Regions from separate parts of the Homo sapiens genome. Here regions 2, 3 and 4 are each linked to region 1. The links are contacts of gene promoters, found by promoter capture Hi-C in blood cells and fetal thymus (Javierre and others, 2016). All regions are on one chromosome and are shown on one strand. Each heading gives the region's core, a stretch centred on a gene start or on the middle of the fragment in contact. The rest is flanking DNA. Distances are from core to core; before and after follow the strand shown. Region 1 holds the start of YWHAH (tyrosine 3-monooxygenase/tryptophan 5-monooxygenase activation protein eta). Region 2 overlaps PRR14L (proline rich 14 like). Region 3 overlaps PRR14L (proline rich 14 like). Region 4 overlaps DEPDC5 (DEP domain containing 5, GATOR1 subcomplex subunit).

The links. Contacts are between HindIII fragments. The CHiCAGO score rates a contact against its expected background, and 5 or more counts as called.
Region 2: a fragment that was not itself captured here is called in contact with the fragment with the promoter of YWHAH in region 1 in 2 of 17 cell types (endothelial precursors and naive CD4 T cells); the score reaches 8.6 in endothelial precursors.
Region 3: a contact is called between a fragment that was not itself captured here and the fragment with the promoter of YWHAH in region 1, in 1 of 17 cell types (endothelial precursors). The highest score is 5.1, in endothelial precursors.
Region 4: a contact is called between a fragment that was not itself captured here and the fragment with the promoter of YWHAH in region 1, in 3 of 17 cell types (endothelial precursors, megakaryocytes and erythroblasts). The highest score is 10.9, in endothelial precursors.

What each region holds. Positions count from the first base shown.
Region 1 is chr22:31,943,116-31,945,874 of GRCh38, reverse strand. YWHAH (tyrosine 3-monooxygenase/tryptophan 5-monooxygenase activation protein eta) reads right to left here and starts at 1,340. Exons shown (of 2, transcript NM_003405.4): 1 at 1,055-1,340. The coding sequence starts at 1,141. YWHAH-AS1 (YWHAH antisense RNA 1) reads left to right here and starts at 509. Exons shown (of 3, transcript NR_171018.1): 1 at 509-642. LOC124900477 (a long non-coding RNA gene) reads right to left here and starts at 1,041. Exons shown (of 3, transcript XR_007068065.1): 1 at 640-1,041; 2 at 197-375. RefSeq lists enhancers at 370-419, 1,163-2,020, 2,021-2,759 and silencers at 740-1,079, 1,150-1,369, 1,380-1,469, 1,750-1,899. The HindIII fragment of the contact is 4,478 bases long and covers 1-2,759 here.
Region 2 is chr22:31,701,444-31,704,202 of GRCh38, reverse strand. PRR14L (proline rich 14 like) reads left to right here. Exons shown (of 9, transcript NM_173566.3): 6 at 482-653; 7 at 2,441-2,547. Among named protein-coding and RNA genes, the nearest start is that of PISD, 41 kb to the right of the region's middle. The HindIII fragment of the contact is 3,996 bases long and covers 1-2,759 here.
Region 3 is chr22:31,721,825-31,724,583 of GRCh38, reverse strand. All of the region lies in intron 3 of PRR14L (proline rich 14 like), which reads left to right. Among named protein-coding and RNA genes, the nearest start is that of PRR14L, 27 kb to the left of the region's middle. The HindIII fragment of the contact is 1,455 bases long and covers 633-2,087 here.
Region 4 is chr22:31,813,816-31,816,574 of GRCh38, reverse strand. DEPDC5 (DEP domain containing 5, GATOR1 subcomplex subunit) reads right to left here. Exons shown (of 43, transcript NM_001242896.3): 21 at 1,363-1,583. It also overlaps the pseudogene RPL17P52. Among named protein-coding and RNA genes, the nearest start is that of DEPDC5, 61 kb to the right of the region's middle. The HindIII fragment of the contact is 1,314 bases long and covers 667-1,980 here.

The DNA.
Region 1 (2,759 bases), core at 91-2,590:
AAAAATCGCCTGTGAGAGCTGGTTACAATGCAGATGTCTGAGTCTCACCGCCCGAATTTCTGAATGTATAGGTCTAAGGCGGAGTTCAAGGGGATCCTCCCAGGTCTCAGGAGGTTGTACACTGAACATAGGTTGGTGGTCGCAGTTGTTCTACCACTGTGTGACCTTGACGCAGGGAGAGGAAATATTCATTTACAGAAAACGTAAAATAACGTGGAGAGAGAGTGAGATGGTAACCGGAACTCAGAAATGCAGGTGGTGTGTGACCCACGGTATTTTGCTAGGGTGTGGCTGGGCACGACTCATCCACCGGAGAAGCTGCAGAATCGATTTATGAGGGTCTCAGGAATGCAAAGACACACAGATTCGTCTCACCTAGAAGTCACGTTTCATTTTAATCTCCAAGCAGACAGCGCAGCAGCAAACCTGGGGCTGTGGAGTGGGGCCCCACACCCTCCGCCCACTCTCCCGCCCCCGTCCACGCCTAGACTGCAGGAAAGGGGTCTTCGCACACAAAGCCAGACCCCCAGGCGTGGGAAGATGGAACCAGAACAATTCGAACGAGCAGAGCAAAACAGATCGGAATTGCAGACTTCAGGTCGTGGCAGAGAAAACCAGCTGAGACAGGGCGCCACTTACTAGGTGATTCTTTATTCCAAGTTGGGGAACGGAGGAAGACGAGAGGGGGAGCCCCCGGGTCCGGTGAAACGCTCTAGGAGAAATGCGGCTCCTTCGCGTCCCCTAGGGCACCCTCTGCCCCCGGCCGGGTTCCGAACTAAGATGTGGCGACCCCGACCGGCCCGCCCCCCTTCCGGGGCTGCCTTCGCGATCCCGAACTGCACCCTCCCGGATCCCCCACCCTGGGCCCAGCCTCAGGAAGTGGCGGGGCGCCCAGCGGGAGCGGGAAGCGCGGGCTAAGGGCGGGCGGGCGGCCACGCCCAGCCGGGTCGCCGGGTCGCCCATGGCCGGGAGGGGAACGCGCCCGCGGCCATCCCCGTCCCTCCCCAACGCCAGGCCCCCCCCGGCCAGCCGCCCGGGCTCCCGGCGCGCTCACCGCCTTCATAGCGGAGGCCATGTCGTCGTAGCGCTCCGCCTGCTCGGCCAGCCGCGCCCGCTGCAGCAGCTGCTCCCGGTCCCCCATGTCGCTCGCGGCTCGGCCTCGCCTCGCGCCTCACACCGCTGGCTCGCTAGCCCTCCCGCCGGTCAGTCCGCTCCCCGGTCGCTGCGGAGGCCGCCGCCGCGCACGCGCACTGGCTCGCCGGCCGGCCGGAGGCTGCAGGCTGCAGGCTGCAGGCAGCGCCGCCGCTCGCGCCCTCTCGCTGGCTCGCCCCGCGCGCTGTGGCTCGCGCCGCGGACAACGCCGAGGGAGGAGACGCGGCCGCGCTGGGGGATGGGAGGACGGGACGACGCCTGCGCAGTGAGAGTGGCCAGGCCGGGCGGCGGGGAGCGGCGGGAGTGGGAGGGGGGAAGGGCGGGCCGGCCCTAACGGTCTATTTCAAGGTGACGTCACCTACTATAAATAGCCACCGCCGCCGCCGCCGCCCGGCCTGAAAGCCGCGCAGGCGCTCTGCGAGTGCTGCATTTTACCGCCGCAGAGATGGAGGTGGAGAAGGGAAAGCCGGGCAGGAGACTGCGGAGCCGGTGGAGGGGGCGCGGTGATGGCGGCTGCACAGGCAGTGCATTGTCATAGCCCCACCCTGAAACGCGCCACTCCATCCACGTTAGAGATCTGGCTTGAGAAGGGCCCCAAAAGCAAGCAAACATACTGGCGGAGAAGCCGGGAGACCGCGTGCCCCGAGGGGCGGGTCCGCCCAGCCCCGCCCCAGCCGTCCCGCCCGCCCCGAGCCCTGCCTGTCCATGCGTTCTGCTGGGCCACACCTTGTACTGGTCCGGGCAGGATCGAGTCCGACCCTCGGGGACAGCCCCGCTACACAGACACACACAATCGAACCCAACCTGAGACGTAGCCTTGGGCAGGCTGTGCCTTCCACCAGAGGAGGGGACTGGGTGGCCAGGGCGGGACAAGTAATATTCAGGACACATTAGGAGCCAGCCCAGTGCTAGTCCCGTACAAGCATCCTCCTCTTTAATCCTCACTACCCAGCCCACAGTGGGCACAGCTGGTCTCCCCATATTTAAAACGTGGAACCTGAGGAAAAGCGAGGTTAGTGACTTGCTCAGGGTTACGCAGCCTGTAAGTGGTGGGGCCAGGATCTGAGTCCAAACCCAGGCTGAACTTTCTCTTGTGGCAAAGAGCTGGGGTGGCCCAACTGGCTGGTCACTGAGCCCCTCCCAATCCTGGCTGGTATTGGATGCTGAGGGTCCCTTGTGCCAGGCCCTGGACTGGGCTGCCCGACAAGCTAGGAAAATGATGATTAAAACAAGGCCCCCACTTGATTTCAACACGCCAAGGGCAGTGCAGGAGAGGGGGCCTTGGGCTCGCTGAGAATTTTATTGAGCATCTACTGCATGCTCAGCCCACAGGGATAAGCTGGATCTTGAAGGAGAGTCAGGAAAAAGATTAAGGCCTGGGGTACAGCATTGGCAAAGGCTTGGCAGTGACCTGGGAGATGGTGAGAAGAGAGGCCTAAGAATGGGAAGTGAGGTTGGGTAAAACAAGATTACGGAGTCTTTTAAATGCCAGGCCAAAGATTTGAGGCTTCATCCTTAGGTAATTGGGAAGCCATATTTCAGGCCTGGAATCTTGCTCTAGAGAGTAAGACATGTTCGAAGGGAGAAGGGAGGGAACTGGAGACCAG
Region 2 (2,759 bases), core at 92-2,591, 240 kb after region 1:
TGTAGATACAGGCTATGTCTGGAAGTGACTAGAATGCAGGTTGACTGGATATATTATTCTCTGGAAAGAAAGAAAAAGTATTGAGGCCTAGATGTTAAGAAGTTGAGGCTGGGCGTGGTGGCTCACACCTGTAATCCCAGCACTTTGGGAGGCCGGTGCGGGTGGATCACCTAAGGTCGGGAGATCAAGACCATCCTGACCAACATGGAGAAACTCCGTCTCTACTAAAAATACAGAATTAGCTGGGCGTGGTGGCGCATGCCTGTAATTTCAGCTACTCGAGGGGCTGAGGCAGGAGAATTGCTTGAACCCGGGAGGCAGAGGCTGCATTGAGCCGAGATCGTACCATTGCACTCCAGTCTGGGCAACAAGAGCAAAACTCCTTCTCAAAAAAAAAAAAAAAAATGAAGAAGAAGAAGTTGAATGTGCTGGAAGTAGAAAGGGAACCCCTCTCATATCTTCTTTCTCTTCATGGTGCTAGGCTGGAGCCTCCATTCCCTGCCTTGGTACCAAAGTCTTGCTTGGTAGCAGAATCAGCTGTCAGCAAGCTCCTGCTTTCAGCCTCTGAGTTCCAGGTTCGTGGATTGGATGAGCTGGATGGTGTGAAAGCAGCATGCCCCTGCCCACAGAGCAGCCCCCCAGAACAGAAAGAGGTAAGTGTAAAGTGCTGGTTGGGTCAGATGATGGTGGCATTGGAGGTGGCCATTGTCAACTCACATCGCATTATAGCTACAGACTGGCTTCTGAGTATCTTTACGTACCACCTTCAGTGTCAGCCGAGTTCTGGAGAGTACTAAGCCAGGAGTTTTTCTCTTGGCCAGTAAAGGACACAGTGGATTTTTTAATCTGCATTGTTTTCCAGATACTTTTTTCTTGCCAACAGCATGTAACAGTGTTTAGAGAATTGGACGAAAGAGCTGCTTTGTGCATTCAAAGAAGATGAGTGGATGGTGATGATGTTCAATTTTGCAACGTCTGTTGTCTTCAACAGTTGCAAACTTTCATGTTGACAGTCTCAATATCTGAACTGAATGTACAATTCTTGTTTTGATGATATGAAGGGAGTAGTTGCTTAAAACACAGCAGGGGCCAGGCACGGTGGCACACGCCTGTAATCTCAGCACTTTGGGAGGCTGAGGCGGGCGGATCGCTTGAGTCCAGGAGTTCAATAGCAGCCTGGGCAACCTGGCAAAACTGTGTCTCTACAAAAAAGACAAAAATGAGCTGACTGTGGTGGTGCACACCTGCAGTCCCAGTTACTCGGGAGGCTGAGGAGGGAGAATTGCTTGAGCCCGGGAGGCAGAGTTTGCAGCAATGACCCCAGATTGCATCACTGCACTCCAGCCTGAGTGACAGAGTGAAACCCCATCTTAAAAAAAAAATAAAAGGCCGGGCACGGTGGCTCACGCCTGTGATTCCAGCACTTTGGGAGGCCAGGGCGGGCGGATCACCCGGGGTCAGGAGTTCGAGACCAGCCTGGCCAGTATGGTGAAACCCCATCTCTACTAAAAATACAAAAATTAGCCAAATGTGGTGGCACATTCCTGTAATCCCAGGTACTCTGGAGGCCGAGGCAGTAGATTCGCTTAAACCCAGGAGGTGGAAGTTGCAGTGAGCCTGGATTGCACCACCACACTCCAGCCTGGGCGGCAGAGTGAGACTCCATCTCAAAAAATAAATAAGGCCAGATGCGGTGGCTCACATCTGTAATCCTAGCACTTTGGGTGGCCGAGGTGGGCGGATCACCTGAGGTTGGGAGTTTGAGACCAGCCTGACCAACATGGAGAAACCCTGTTTCTACTAAAATACAAAATAAGCCGGGCGTGGTGGCACATGCCTGTAATTCCAGCTACTCAGGAGGCTGAGGCAGGAGAATGACTTGAACCTGGGAGGCAGAGGTTGCGGTGAGCCAAGACCATGCCATTGCATTTAAGCCTGGGCAACAAGAACAAAACTCTATCAAAAAAATAAATAAATAATAAAAAAAGCAGGAATAGAAGTGGGAGCTTTGTCATAAACTGCTTAATAGAGTCATCTCTAGAGTGAGGTAGCAATGTTTTAAGTGTCAAGATGGACTTTATATATTTAAAATATCTTACAATATGCCAGGGGTGGTGGCATACACCTATAGTCCTAGCTACCGCAGAGGCTGAGGCAAAAGGATCAGTTGAGCCCAAGAGTTCCTGGCCAGCCTGGGCAATATAGCGAGACCCCATCTAAAAATAAAAATTCCCAGTTACGGTGGCTTATACTTGTAACCCCAGCGCTTTGGGAGGCCAAGGCAGGAGGATCATTTGAGTCCAGGAATTCAAGGCTGCAGTGAGCTATGATTGCACCACTTCACACCAGCCTGGGCCACAGAGTGAGACCTTGTCTCAAAAAATATATAAATAAAATGTCTTACAGCTTGACCATCTTTCTTCTTAATCCTTAAAAATAGGCTGAGCCAGAGAAGAGGCCAAAGAAAGTCTCACAGATTCGCATCCGGAAAACCATTCCTAGGCCAGATCCTAATCTTACCCCCATGGGCCTTCCTCGACCCAAAAGGTGAGCTCCTTCTCTGTTACAAGCTAGGTTCACTTTTTTGGAAAATTGTTTGTCATAATATAATTGCCCTTTAAATGGTCCTACACTCTGAGCCATTTATTACATTTCTAGGAATTTATCCTAAAGAATTAATTAGTAATGTCGCTAGATATTTATAAGCAAGGACATTTTAATACATTGCCTACATAATCTTAGTAAACCCTCCAAATGAA
Region 3 (2,759 bases), core at 111-2,610, 220 kb after region 1:
TCTACAAAAAATGCAAAAATTAGCATGGCAGCACACACACCTGTGGTCCCAGCTACTCGGGAGGCTAAGGCAGAAGGATACTTGAGCCCTGGGAGGTTGAGGCTGTAGTGAGCCGTGATCACACCACTGTACTCCATCCTGGGCAACAGAGCAAGACCCTGTCTCAGAACCTCACAAAGAGAAGATAAAGTGAATACGCTAAGTCAGTGGTCCCCGACATTTTTGGAGTCAGGAACCTGTTTCGTGCAAGACAGTTTTTCCACAGATCTGGTGGGGTGGATGCTTTTAGGATGATTCAAGTGCATTGCATTTATTGTGCACTTCGTTTCTATTATTATTCCATTGTAATATATAATGAAATAATTATACAACTTCCCATAATGTAGAATCAGTGGGAGCCCTGAGCTTGTTTTCCTGCAACTAGGTGGTCCCCTCTGGGGTTGATGGGCGACAGTGACAGATCATCAGGCATTAGATTCTCATAAGGAGCTCACAACCTAGATCCCTTGCATGTACAGTTCACAATAGGGTCCACGCTCCTATGAGAATATAATGCTAGTGTTTATCTGGCAGGAGGCGGAGCTCAGGCAGTAATGCAAGCATGAGGAGCAGCTGTAAATGCAGATGAAGCTTTGCTCACTTGCCTGCTTCTCACCTCCTGCTGTGCCGCCCGATTTCTAACAGACCAAGGATGGGTACTGGTCCATGGCCCAGGGTTGGGGACTGCTGCATTAAATTATATGACTATTTTGTTACTGTGATGAAACATCAGATTTGACTCTTAGCTTCTCGGCAGCCTGGACAGAAAAGGAAGCACCAATCTTTCTTATGAAAAAGGACATTTGTCCCAGTTTATCACCCAGCTTCCTGCTGCTGCAGATTTCTTCTGTGGCTCAGAGGCTTCACTGTCCAGTGTAGATTAAAGGACATTCCTCCGAAGATGAGAAATGGTGTTTTGTACATAAATCTCACCCTGTTCTTAGAGGCTTACTAGGGATACAGTTTAGTGGGCCCCTAACCCCACCCCCAAGATCTGTTTAGTTGGGCTCCAGTATTGCTGTATTCAGTCTTTGGTATATTTTCACCCACATCTTACCACAGAATTTACTGTCTGTTGAACTACACTTTCATTTAACCACTGAACTGGCCTTTTAAACAGGAGAACCAGGGTTATTTTCTGCTTGGAAATCTGCCTTTTCAAAATTACCTGGCTACTCTCCACCTAAGAAGCTGGTCCACATTGGACATAGATAAGATGAACTCTCCTGAACAGTATCTGCAGCTAAATTACTCTGTGACACTTTTCTTCATGTTCTAATATCATGCTTATTTAATGACTTAAATTGGTAAAATATTTGATTTTTTTTCTCCCCCAAACCCATGGATAAGGGTCTCAGTTTGGTATAGGCGAGCTTGAAATCAGCATCTCTACTAGAGTTTTTAGCAGCAATGGCCTAGTTCATTCTGTCCCCCAAGAACATTCCAGGGTATTCCTGTGTTGCATGTGAGGAAGCAGGCTCAGCTGTCCAAAGTCATAGCCAGTCATAGCAAGCCAGAGAAGAAGATTCTGTGGAGACAGGCCTGTGAAGATGTTGAGCCCTGGGAGCATGAGCAATATATGCCATCACCATGGATTTGATTTAAATAGACCCACGTTCTCTTCTGTAGTGTGGCCAGCATTTTGGCTTGCTCTGCCAAGGTCAGGCATCTGCTACTTTATCTTTACTGTGGAATTAAGAACTGAATGATGCCGGCTGGGCGCAGTGGCTTACACCTGTAATCCCAGCACTTTGGGAGGCCGAGGCAGGCAGATCACGAGGTCAGGAGATCAAGACCATCTTGGCTAACACAGTGAAACCCCATCGCTACTAAAAATACAAGAAAAAAAACAAAATTAGCCAGGCATGGTGGCGGGCGTCTGTAGTCCCAGCTACTTGGGAGGCTGAGGCGAGAGAATGGTGTGAACCCCGGAGGTGGAGCTTGCAGTGAGCGGGGATCGCTCCACTGCACTCCAGCCTGGGCAGCAGAGCAAGACTCCGTCTCAAAAAAAAAAAAAAAACTGAATGATGCCTCTTAGAAACCAAGCTTGTCTCCAGGGCTCCAGCTGCCAAAATCTTCACTCTGCCCCACCCAGATTTAAGTTTTCTTTCTTTTTTTTTTTTTTTTCTTTCTGTCACCCAGGCTGGAGTGCAGTGGCACGATCTTGGCTTACTGCAACCTCCGCCTGCCGGGTTCAAGCAATTCTCCTGCCTCAGCCTCAAATAGCTGGGACTACAGGCACGTGCCACCATGCCCGGCTGATTTTTTTGTATTTTTAGTAGAGACGGAGTTTTACCATGTTGGCCAGACTTGTCTCAAACTCCTGACCTCAGGTGATCCACCCGTCTCAGGCTCCCAAAGTGCTGAGATTACAAGTGTGAGCCACCGCGCCCGGCCCAGATTTAAGTTTTCTCGATGAAAATCTAATATATACTTACTACCTTTGTTTCATTAAGTGTTTGCATGGTTGAGCACTGTGCAAATTACTTTACTTGATTTTATTTATTACGTTTTGGTTATTCTGAGTGGGAGGACTTCAGTGTAATTATAAATTGGCTGAGGAATGATTTGGGATCCCCTGCACCAAGTTGTTTAGTAAGTGAACCTCTGCTACTACACTCTCCCCTCAGTGCATTATTTTTACTTCTCTATATAAATGTCCCACTGTCAGTACTATCAAATTACCATGGTATTCCAGAGTTTTGGGATTCTTTTATTTA
Region 4 (2,759 bases), core at 74-2,573, 130 kb after region 1:
CCTGTAATCCCAGCTACTTGGGAGGCTAAGGCAAGAGAATCACTTGAACCCAGGAGGCAGAGGTTGCAGTGAGCTGAGATCATGCCACTGTACCCTAGCCCGGGCAACAGAGCAAGACTCTGTCTCAGAAAAAAAGAAAAGAAAAAAAAAGAAAAGAAAGAAACTGAAGAAACAAAAACTGATAGTATGGGAATAAATTCGGTACAAAATCAATGCAAATAAAAGTTAAAAAAAAACAGGTAAGTGAAAAAAAAAGTTTTTTGTTTTTTTTTTTTTGAGGTGGAGTCTCCCTCTGTCACCCAGGCTGGAGTGCAGTGGTGGAATCTCGGCTCACTGCAACTACGCCTGCCAGGTTCAAGTGATTCTCCTGCCTCAGCCTCCTGAGTAGCTGGGATTACAGGCACCCGCCACCACACCTAGCTAATTTTTGTATTTTGAGTAGAGACGGCGTTTCACCATGTTGACCAGGCTGGTCTCAAACTTCTGGCCTCAAGTGATCCACCCGCCTTGGCCTCCCAAAGTGCTGGAATTACAGGTGTGAGCCACTGCGCCCGACCGGTAAATGAGAAACTAAAATGCAACATTAAGACAGAGGTTGTTTTATATATGGCACAAATGGAAATCATAAGGAAATAAACCCTTTTGACCCTAGGCCTAAGAAAAGCTTTCCATTAACATATGGAAAGGCATACAGTTAAATGATGGATGAAGAAAGGCTAAACAAAAAATAGTATAATAGAGGCAGGGTGCGGTAACATTGGTTCATGCCTGTAATCTCAGCACTTTTGGAGGCCAATGGGTGGATCCCTCGAGTCCAGGAGTTCAAGACCAGCCTGGGAATGGTAAAACCCCACCTCTACAAAAAAAAATATGATAATCAGCTGGGTGTGGTGGCATGCTATAGTCCCAGTTACTTGGGAGGCAGAAGTGGGAGGATCAATTGAGTCCAGGAGTTCAAGGCCGCACTGAGGTGAGCTGTGATTGCATCACTGCACTTCCCCACCTCTACAAAAAAAAATATGATAATCAGCTGGGTGTGGTGGCATGCTATAGTCCCAGTTACTTGGGAGGCAGAGGTGGGAGGATCGATTGAGTCCAGGAGTTCAAGGCCGCACTGAGGTGAGCTGTGATTGCATCACTGCACTTTATCCTAGGTGCTCTGTCACCAAAAAAAAAAAAAAAAAAAAAAGAAGTATAATATATACATAGCTAACAGCTAAAGTGATTTGTACCTACTGCACTGGCAAAGAAATCATTAAGATGTGGGATTTACACCCCACCTCTGACCAATCCTCCCACCTCCAGTCACCCACTATATTAAGAAAGATGTCCCTGGCTCTGTCTGTGCTTCAGCACTCTTACCTCGAGTGCTGGTGTATCCCAAGGAGCTGCTGACTTCATACTGGTGCAGGTGGGGGTGTGGGATCATCAGGATGTTGGCACTCTTGCCTAGGGAGCTGTCGTCAGAAGCCTGGCTCCTCACTTCCTCAGTGGGCAGTGTGCGGCTTGGTAGGGAAGGGCTGGATGAAACATCACAGGAGCTGGCACTCTTTCGACTGTGACTCTCTCGCTCTCGCACAGATCTGCCAGGCAAGAGACAAAAAGTTACCATCAAGCGAGGGATGCTGTCCTACCTTGAGTTAAAACTAAAACCCATCACCAGCCCAAGCCACATGGAACCCAATAACAAAAATCCCCAGTGTGATCTACAAGTGGGAAACCTGTATGCGGTACTTCACCCTTAACAGCTTGAGATGTTATATAAGAGAGGGGGGAAATGACAGACATTATGCAGCCAAAGTCCTAGGATCATAGTTGTAAAGAAAGGACTGCTCCAGGCTGACCCCACCTAATCCCACTGATTAATCTCTCATCACTAAAAACAGAATGAGAAGAGAGGTATGATGTGATGTGGGAGAAAGAACATAGTGCCCAAGAAGTCTACTTGCCCTCAAATTTGAATCTAAATCTAATCAAGCTTCCAGAGATAATTGCCAGTTTACAGGGAATCTGCAGAATAGAGGAAAACTGAAACACTACAAGGCAACAATCAGCCAAATGTAGAAAGCAAGACATTCTACTGTCACACACACACACAAAAGGCATTATAACCAAATGCAAAAAGTGGATCTTGTTTAGGTCCCATTTCAAACTAACTGCAAAAGCACATTTTTGAGGCAATTCAAAAAACTGACTATGCACTGGCTATTAGAGGGCATTTAGGGATTAGTGTTAATTTTGTTACCAATGATAATGGTACCGTGATGGGTTTTCTTTTAGTTCTTATTTGTTGAAACATATACTAATCAGCTTTGTGCCAGGCTGGGTGACACTAAATAAATAAATAACATGTAAAAAAAGAAAGAAACTTACGCTGAAGTATGTATTATTGAAAAAAAATAGAGGCTGCCTGGGGTTTGTTTTGTTTGTTTGTTTTTGTGAGACGGAGTCTCACTCTGTCACCCAGACTGGAGTGCAGTGGCATGATCTCAGCTCACTGCAGCCTCCACATCCTGGGTTCAAGTGATTTTCCTGCCTCAGCCTCCCAAGTAGCTGAGATTACAGACGCCCACCACCACGCCTGGGTACTTTTTTCGTATTTTTAGTAGAGACGGGGTTTCACCACGTTGGTCAGCCTGGTCTCAAACTCCTGAACTCAAGTGATCCACCTGCCTTGGCCTCCCAAAGTGCTGGGATTACAGGTGTGAGCCACTGTGCCCGGCCAATCCTGGGATTTGTTTTTAAAATATTCCATCCAA